3 separate regions of the Homo sapiens genome follow, and all the other regions are linked to region 1. The links are contacts of gene promoters, found by promoter capture Hi-C in blood cells and fetal thymus (Javierre and others, 2016). All regions are on one chromosome and are shown on one strand. The core of a region is centred on a gene start or on the middle of the fragment in contact, and the rest is flanking DNA. Distances in the headings are between cores, read along the strand shown.

Region 1 (3,205 bases), core at 326-2,825:
TACTAAAACTACAAAAAAATTAGCCGGGCGTGGTGGCGGGCGCCTGTGGTCCCAGCTACTCACACAGGAGGCTGAGGCAGGAGAATGGCGTGAACCTGGGAGGCGGAGTTAGCAGTGAGCCGAGATCGTGCCACTGCACTCCAGCCTGGGCAACACAGTGAGACTCTGTCTCAAAAAAAAAAAAAAAATGCACTCGAAGTTTAACAGTTACTATCTTTACATGCTGGATTCATGGGTAATTATAAACTTGTACTACTCGTATTTCTCCAATTTCTGAACGCTCCACAATCATACCGCTGCATAACAAGTGAAATATTTGTAATAAATGAAATAGTTCTAATGAATGAAATAGTTGATAAACTCCCAGAACAGTCCAAGCCCATAAGCCTTGCTCTCAAGGCTCCCTTCAATCAAGTCCTAGCTTGCTTTCCCCACTAGATTCCAGCTAGTTCCTCTGCCTCAATGAGAATGTATCCAAAAGATTATCAACTAAGGCTCTGACCTGTAACGCCCAGGTTTCAACCGCAGCTCCACCTCTTACTGCTTAGGTGACTATTCTCAGATAACTCCTGCTCCTTTGTATCTCACTCATCTTTAAAACTGAAAAAAGTAGTACCTCTCCACAGAGCCACGGTGTGGCGAAAATGTGACTACTTGTATAAAGCTCTTGGGATAAAGTTACCAATTGAGGCTTAATTATTATCAACACCCATGCCTGAGGACACATCCTACACTCTTGGTCGGGGTGAGCATCTCTGTAAAAGAAAAAAAGCCAAGGACCACTCTCGTGGAACTTTGCCCTCAGTAGCCAAGAAGTCCCTCCCTGCAGCTCTTTTTGAGAATCAGGCTGGGGAAGGAGAAAGCTGTGAAACACCCTGACCGCATTGCCGTCCGGCATAAAAGTTAAATGTTCCTCTCCCTTCGTGGAAATGGAAACAACCCTCGCCTTCCTAAAAAGAGGTCAGAAGCGTCCGGGATCACCCAGCGTCCTGCAGGAATCAGAGACAAGGGCGGGGATCCCTGCAGATGGAGCTCTGACCCCACCCGGGGACCTGACAGGCTTCGTGGGAAATAAACACTAAGAAGAGACCACCAGTCACTAAGGGAGGGGCTGCTTTAAGGCTTTCATTTGTGTTACCTCTTCCAGTTCCCAAAACGATTTCATTAGGATGGTCCTAAAGTCCCCATTTTAAAGAACAGCAGTGGGAGGTACAGGGAGATTAATAACATCCCAACCCTAAATTGTGAGAAAGTAGCCTCACAGGTGGGATGGAGGGAGGCGGACTGAGCGAGCTGAGAGCCCCAAAAACCCTCAAACCAGGCGAGACGCGTCCCGACCAAGTCCCAACCCCCAGCCTCATGCCCGGGGACGCGAGGACAGCCCCAAGACCAAGAAGGCTCCGCTGACAAGAACGAAAAGAGAGGCCGTTGTCCCTCCAAACCTCCGTTTTCCAACGAGACTCCTTCTCCCCTTAGTCAACTTCCAGGTGGTTGCGAGCCAGCATCGTAAGGGGACACGTTTAGAAGGACCGACAAGACACAGGACTGACACCAAACTACCACCGAATGCACTGCAGCAACCTCGCCCCCCGGGAGCGGAAGTGCCCCTACCCCGCGCAGCGTGTGAACTACATTTCCCAGAATTCCCCGGATACGCCGTCCTGAGCCTACTTGCTCGTCATTCAACAGATCTCCTGCGCTACACTTCCTTGAATCTCAAAGGAGACGTTCTATAGTATCACCTTCCGGCGGGAAGCGTGGGACTCCGCGGTGCTCTTTGACTACACTTCCTGCAATGCCCACGAGGAATGAATCCCATAGACCCAAGCGCCTGGTTTGGAATATGGACTGTGGCCCTGAGAGTGGTCCTTCCCTCTCCCTGCGTCCTCGAGAGAAAATATTGAATAGACAGGAATTCCTGAAGTCTACACGCCTCCCATGATGACAGGAGTGTTACTGAAAGAGAACAAAGCAAGGAGATACAATCTTCAAGGAGTTAGCGGGGAGTGACTGTGGAGCGGTCAGGAGATGGCTGAAAGGCTAATATACTAGACGCTAATAGTATGAGGCTAAATCTAAGAGCTTAAATAATGGGCCAGGAAAAATGGTTTGGGAGAGGCATTGAGTGGGGCACCAGCCCCTGGTACAACCAGACACTGTTGTACCACTGGTTTGGCAAGAAAAACAACCACAGTTTAAGTGTTTAAGAGGGCTGTAAGAGTTAAAGAGAAAAAAAAAAAAAACACGAAAAGCGGCTCAACAGTCAAAGACAGGTTCGTTTTGGAGAATAAACCGAGAGGGCCTTCTGGCCGATTGCAGTCAGGAGCGCTCTCTCTTACGGACTAAGAGTATGTATTGGCTTTAGGGAGAGAGAGCTTACCACAGGCTTAGAATGTTTCTGTATTGGGGAGAAGTCTGTTGTGGGGTTGGAATATCTCTGGTTGGAGGGGAAGTTATCTTGGGACTGACATCTCTCCAATGGAAGGGAGGTTATCTCGGTGCTGGCATGTCTCTGGTCAGGGAGGGGTTTATCTTATGGTTGGAATGTTTCTGATTGGAGATGTCATTTGTGGTTTATGGTCATGCTGACCTTAGCCATTAGGCTGATGCCCTTTGGATTTAGGCAGTTTTTGATCAACGCGAACTTTAAAATGGCAGTGTTTGTCCAAGATGGCGATGCTCCTGCCCTGTCAAGGGCCAATATGGAGGGCCAATTGCCCTCCTGGAAAAGCTATCTTCCCACTTTTAAAGTTTTCATATTAATATTCTTTAGACGTGGAAATGCCACATTTAAGAGAAATTAAACTGCTTAGTATTGTGAAAGGAAAATATCTTGGGCCCCCAAAATCACTAAGGAAATCTCAAGCTGGAAATCGCTTAGGGCAAACCTGCCTCCCATTCTATTCAAAGTCACTCCTCTATCTGTCCTTGCTATCACGAGAACAGCATGGGAAAGACCCACTCCCATGATTCAATTACCTCCTACTAGGTCCCTTTCATGATATGTGGGAATTATGGGAGCTATAATTCAAGATGAGATTTGGGTGGAGACACAGCCAAACCGTATCAGTATGTGTAGATTTCTTATTTTCCATTATTACTTAAAAGAAAGCACGTTTCTAACTCTTCTATGGTCATGTAACAACATATCCTAGAAATCACTTCATGTACAGTACATTCTTTTTAGTGCTGCGTAAACTAGAAA
Region 2 (3,205 bases), core at 284-2,783, about 14 Mb before region 1:
AATTCCGGGTTGAAAATTCTTTTCTTTAAGACTGTTGCCTTCTTTAGAATATTTATTTAGGGTATTGTGACAAAGTCAAAAGGTGATGCAGGACAAAAATCATTATATGCAGGACATGTCCTGTATGTATAGGAATCTTGGAAATTTTATTAGTGATGTCTTTCATGCTACTAACACATTTGAAAAACACCTACTGAGAGCTCGTATGTGTTCCTTGGATGTGTATTTTAACAGTGAATTATCAAGACAGCACAACTTCACTGTTGATTTTTACCATTCTGATATCTTCTTTACAATTGCTCAGCATTTTCAGGAAAAAAGAGTCACATTTTGTTGACAAAGTGTGGTCAAGATCACAACACAACCATATGCTTAACTTCATTCTTTCACTTATACTTTAGTATTCAGGCTCAAACTTTACTGAGATCTTAACTTTGTCCATCTATCACAGATATTTCCTTAGAGCAATTTCTTTCATTATCTTCAAATAACTACGGAATCATTATTAATAGCTGTCAGGATTTTTCCCCCGGGGATAATCTCACCTCCTAACACAGACACCATACTTACAATGACAATGACAGGTTAAATGGTAATTGCACTGTGTTTTGCTGTGATGGAGACATCACTGATTACCCAGGCAGGAAGAGTTTTCTGAAGAAATCTGTCCACTGGTTTCAGGGAGACTCCACATCATCCCTCTTCCTTCTTCCACTCCAAGGCCTTGTTTGGAATATTTTCTCTTCCGTCTCTGACCAAACTGAAGCTCACAAAAGTTACTGTAAAGCTTGAGTGCACACATATTTAAAAAGCAACAAGGTAATAGTTATTAGCTTCTAGCTGTGAGTGTACGCAAAGAGACATTGTGGTGTGGTGTATCTATTTAGTTTTGCAGCTTTGGGGAACATCTGAAATGTCTCAACATTTCTGCGATCGGTGCATACTACACTCCAGGGAATCTAGGTCCAGGCCTTTTAAGAGGACAGAAGTCAGCCGGGCACCATGGCTCACTCCTGTAATCCCAGCACTTTGGGAGGCCGAAGCAGGCAAATCACAAAGTCAGGAGTTCGAGACCAGCCTGGCCAACATGGTGAAATCCCGTACTCTGCTAAAAGTACTAAAATTAGCCTGGCGTGGTGGCGGGCCCCTGTAGTCCCAATTACTTGGGAGGCTGAGGCAGGAGAATCGCTTGAACCCGGGAGGCGGAGGTTGCAGTCAGCCGAGATCGCGCCACTGCACTGCAGCCTGGGAGACAGAGCGAGACTCTGTCTCAAAAAAAAAAAAAAAAAAAAAAAAGAGGACGGAAGTCCTGTCAGCCCTTTGAAACTCGGGTTACTTTTCCCAAACAACTTGGCCCTCCTACTTCGAGTTTTCCCAAGAGCCCAGGCCGAGAATCCCCTGCCTTGAAGGATAGCTCAGTGGGAACCACACTCTACCCACAAACCTATACGTTGCATACCCAATGAGGGCCCAGGAGAGGGGTGTTTCAGTGCCTGCGGGGGGTGCGTGGGCGGGACTTCCGGCTCCTCCTTGTAGCGGACATTTTGTTTCTGTCAGGCTGTCCCTGGCCGGGGTTCTGTAACGCTTGTGTGGGCCGCAGGTGGAGGTGTTGGGAAAGCGCGGAGGAGATGTTGTCCCCAGTGTCCCGAGACGCGTCTGATGCTCTGCAGGGACGGAAGTGCCTGCGTCCCCGATCGAGACGCCTGCCGCTCCCGGCAGCTGTCCGCGCCCACGGTCCTATGGCGGAGCTAACGGACTCCGCGCGGGTGGGTGCTGCGTCCTCCGGGCCCTCAGTCACCCTTTCTCCGACTCCGAATCGTAAAGTGCCTGCAGCCCCTGTGTCCCAGGACAGCGACGCACTCTTGGGGCGGGGTCCTATCTCGGTGTGGGTGGGTGTGGGAGAGTTACGGGCGGAGGGGACGGCGCAGGTAAAGGCTCGGGGGTGCTGCTGACCCCCAAACATTTGGGAGACAGGGTTCTCATCAACACAGAGCAGAGTTTGAGGAACTGTGACTGGAATGGCAGGCTGAGAAGTTGTCGCTTCATTCTGAGGGCGTTGAGATTAACTGAGGGTTTTGAATAGAAGGACGTGATCTTAGCTGGGATTTTAAGTGTCTCGAAATTTGCTCAGGGGAGAACATTAGTTTGGGGTGGGGACTGCGAGGATGGATACGAGGAGACCGGTAAGGAGGCTACTGCAGTGGATTCCAGGAATGCTTTGGTGGTGGATGTACCAAGAGTAATGGCAGGTGAGTGGGTAGAAGTGATCATATTCTGGGTAGGTTTTAAATTTGAAACCAACAGGATTTTCTGCTCCATCATATGCAGCTATGACTGAAAGTAAGGCATGAAAGAGCAAGGTGTTTTTGTTGTTTTTCCATGAACGTTTGGATTTTGGAATGGTGACTTTGAGATGTCTCAGAGTGGAGGCTTCCTCACTTAGGCAACTAGAGAGGAAGGTCTGAAGTTGTGGGGAAGGGGCTGGGCTTAGAATATCTTTGGGGTGAAGGGAGCGGTCTGGAGTAGGTCAAGGCCAGGAGGTCAGATTTAAGTGGGGCAGTCTTAAGTATGTTATTTCATATCTCTGGGGTAAGAGATGAGAAGGCTGGGACTGCAGGGCAGGGAAGAGGGAGTGGGCATTCTTGAGACTCCCCCCAGAAGAGAAGGGTCCTGCCATTTGAAAGGGTTCTTTTCAGTGTTTGCAGGAGGAGAGAGCTGTAGGGTATGAGGAGTTTGGCCTGGGATGGCAACGATGGGTGGTGTGCTATTGCTACTATCTGATTATCTCACCCTCATTTTGTGTGTTTTCTTTTAGTTTTAGTTTATTTATTTTTTTTATTTTTTTTGAGACGAAGTCTCACTCTGTCGCCCAGGGTGGGATGCAGTGGCTTATTGCAACCTCTACCTCCCGGGTTCAAGAGATTCTCCCGCCTCAGCCTCCCAAGTAGTTGAGATTACAGGTGCCCACAACCACCCCTGGCTAATTTTAGTATTTATAGTAGAGACGGGGGTGGGGAGGTGGGAGGGGTGGGGTGGGGTGGGGAGGTGGGAGGGGTGGGGTGGGGGCGGGGGAGTGGGGGGGACGTTCACCGTGTTGGCCCAGGTGGTCTTGAACTCCCGACCTCAACTGATCCACCGGCCCCAGCCTTCCAAAGTGTTTGGATTACAGTTGTGAGCCACTGCACTTGGCTTTGGTTTTATTTTA
Region 3 (3,205 bases), core at 245-2,744, about 13 Mb before region 1:
AATTTCAACATGAGCTTTGGAAGAGACAAACATCCAAACCATAGCATATGATTTCTTACAAATTCTGGCTGTTGGGAAACCAAAAATGGGGAATGAGAATTAAGTTGCTGGCTTATGTTCAAGTAAGGAAAAAATTTATCTCTGCCCCAAATCCATAATCATAAACAAGAAACCACCATTAATTAGAGATAACTTGGGATGTGTACCTATGCTTTAAAAGTCAGCTAGTCAGCAAAAGCTTCACCCCAGTAATTAACCAGAAACTTAGCAAATCATTGTTAGGCCAAGATTCTAAAATTTTTCCAATGGGGGTAAGGCCCAGTACTAAAGATGGTCAATCAGTGGCAGCCCCAGGCTGCTGGCAACAACTAATCCACAAGTGCCTCCTGTCAGTAATCCTGTTTATGAAAGCCAGTTGGTAAATGGTTGCATTTACACTAACATACCTGAAAGTCCATCAGTCTTTCAACTCTGCTGCTTCTGAAAGTCCTCAGTCCCTGAAGGCCAGCCTTCCTAAAAGCTCATATAATAGCAGTTTTGGCTTTGTTTGAGGAGACTGCCTGACCACTACAGCTCTGCCCTGCAGACAAATAGGAATATCACTTTTTTTCCCTTGAGATATCAAAATCTATTTATTCTTTTTTTTTTTTTTGAGACGGAGTCTCACTCTGTCGCTGGGCTGGAGTGCAGTGGTGTGATCTCGGCTCACTGCAACCTCCGCCTCTCCGGTTCAAGTGATTCTCCTGCCTCAGACTCTCAAGTAGCTGGAACTACATATGCACGCCACCACGCCCAGTTAATTTTTTTGTATTTTTAGTAGAGACGGGATTTCACCATGTTGGCCAGGATGGTCTCGATCTCTTGACCTCATGATCCGCCTGCCTCGGCCTCCCAAAGTGCTGGGATTACAGGCATGAGCCACCACGCCTGGCCCCATTTATTCTTAATTGAATATAAATTATTACTTATATTTTAATTATATGAATATAATTTAAAAGTTTGCAAGCTTTCAATGGTTCCATCTGTTTGTAATTAGTTATGAGTTTGGATATGAAATGGTAGACTAACTGACCCAGACATACATTGTAAAATCCAACGTTTTCTCCAGTGTTTTCTTTTTTCTTTCTTTTCTTTTTTTTTTTTAAGATACAGTTTCACTCTGTCACCCAGCTGGAGTGCAGTGGCGCAATCTCGGCTCACTGCAACCTCTGGCTCCCAGGTTCAAGTGATTCTCATGCCTCAGCCTCCCAAGTAGCTGGGATTACAGGCGCGTGGCACCATGCCTGGCTAATTTTTTGTATTTCTATTAGAGATGGGGTTTCGCCATGTTGGCCATACTGGTCTCGAACTCCTGACCTCAAGTGATCTGTCCGCCTAGGCCTCCCAAAGTGCTGCGATTACAGGCATGAGCCACTGTACCCACAATGTTTTTCAACTCTTGTAGAAGTTGCTATTGTCTATATTTTGAGTATATTGAATGCAAAAAATGTCAAAATGCAAGTTTATAATTTATGATGAACTGAGGAGTATTTAAAATTCCCTTTGAAGGTCTTCGACTCTATGTAATTGCCCATTGACTAATGAAAATGGTGGACAGTCAAATATATATTAACTTTGGAAGGTGCATGATTTTCTCAACTAGTTCCAAAGAAAGAGACAAAATAACTTTTTTGTTAAAATCAGATGGAGATGGTAGAATAATTATAATAGAGTTTGTAATGTTTTCTACACTGTTTATCATCATGAGTCTTTAGGCTCAGAATGCTACTGTTGAGTGTGTTTCTCATTAATGAATGTCCAATAGATAAAGGAATGAAATAAGTTGAATATGACAAATGACGAAGGTTTGTCACAACATAAATGGCATCAAGACTGTAACTGCAGGAATTCTGTAAGCAAATTATATAAAACAAGGAATTGTTAAGTAGAAGCAAATTATCAGGGAAAGAGTTATGTCATTAGAACTGTGATCCCCAAGCTTTTTAGTACCAGGGACCGGTTTTGTGGAAGACAATTTTTCCATGGATAAGGGAGAGGGGTTTGGGGGCAGATGGTTTCAGAGGCATTAGATTCTCATAAGGAGCATACAACCTAGATCCCTCTCTTGTGCAGTTCACAGTAGGGTTTGCACCCCTATGAGAATCTAATGCTGCTGCCGATCTGACAGGAGGCGGAGATCAGGCAGCAATGCTCACTCATCTGCCACTCACCCTCTGCTATATGGCCCCATTCCTAACAGGCCATAGTACTCATCTGTGGCCCCAGGGGTTGGGGACCCCTGATTTAGAATGTATTTCAGATAAACAACAAATAATTTTATGATGAGTATGTCACATACAATATTTATCTTTTATCTCACTGCACATATACATAGGGAATTAGAAATAATTCAAATTTAACCAGGTCAAGTATCAGTTACAAAATTTGACAATTCTTTTCATCGTAATTTTTTTCTGAACCTATGCATTATATTGAGCATCCTCATTTTTGAACCTAGTAACTCATTCACAGAATTTCTGCTACCCTTCTTCTTTTTTCTTTTTTTCTTTTTTTTTTTTTGAGACAGAATCTTGCTCTGTCACCCAGGCTGGAGTGCATTGGCGCGATCTCAGCTCACTGCAACCTCTGCCTCCCGGCTTCAAGCGATTCTTCTGCCTCAGCCTCCTGAATAGCTGAGATTATAGGCGCCCGCCACCATGCCCGGCTAATTTTTTTTTTTGCCCTGTCGCCCAGGCTGGAGTGCAATGGCATGATCTCAGCCCACTGCAACCCCCTCTTCCCGGGTTAAAGCAATTCTCCTGCCTCAGCCTCCCGAGTAGCTGTGATTACAGGCACGCACCACCACGCACAGCTAATTTTTTGTATCTTTAGTAGAGATAGGGTTTCACCATGTTGGCCAGGCTGGTCTCGAACTCCTGACCTTATGATCTGCCTGCCTCGGCCTCCCAAAGTGCTGGGATTACAGGCTTGAGCCACTGTGTCTGGCCACTTCTTCTTAATTGTAAATTCTGCTGGTTGGGGGCCCTTTGTTCCAAGGAAGGAGAGGTTCCACCAGAAGTAAATATTATTACATTTAATTGAAGGGTGATACAGCTACTTGTTCATCTGGGGATCCTTGTGTCACTTAAGCAAGAAGGGATTGCTTTTTTGCTTTGGATGAGTTAGGCTGAGTTGCTGCCATGGAATGGGAAGCATAGAGAGTTAT

Evidence for each region. Contacts are between HindIII fragments. The CHiCAGO score rates a contact against its expected background, and 5 or more counts as called.
Region 2: a contact is called between the fragment with the promoter of ZNF671 here and the fragment with the promoter of ZNF284 in region 1, in 1 of 17 cell types (non-activated CD4 T cells). The highest score is 5.6, in non-activated CD4 T cells.
Region 3: a contact is called between a fragment that was not itself captured here and the fragment with the promoter of ZNF284 in region 1, in 1 of 17 cell types (total CD4 T cells). The highest score is 8.5, in total CD4 T cells.

What each region holds. Positions count from the first base shown.
Region 1 is chr19:44,070,529-44,073,733 of GRCh38, reverse strand. ZNF284 (zinc finger protein 284) reads right to left here and starts at 1,575. Exons shown (of 5, transcript NM_001037813.4): 1 at 1,443-1,575. The HindIII fragment of the contact is 12,821 bases long and covers 1-3,205 here.
Region 2 is chr19:57,725,952-57,729,156 of GRCh38, reverse strand. It overlaps ZNF671 (zinc finger protein 671), which reads left to right and starts at 1,533. Exons shown (of 4, transcript NM_024833.3): 1 at 1,533-1,766. The coding sequence starts at 1,629. RefSeq lists enhancers at 1,187-1,236, 1,377-1,816, 1,334-1,834 and a silencer at 1,155-1,380. The HindIII fragment of the contact is 7,103 bases long and covers 790-3,205 here.
Region 3 is chr19:57,383,718-57,386,922 of GRCh38, reverse strand. No RefSeq gene overlaps it. Among named protein-coding and RNA genes, the nearest start is that of ZNF548, 4.5 kb to the left of the region's middle. The HindIII fragment of the contact is 972 bases long and covers 1,009-1,980 here.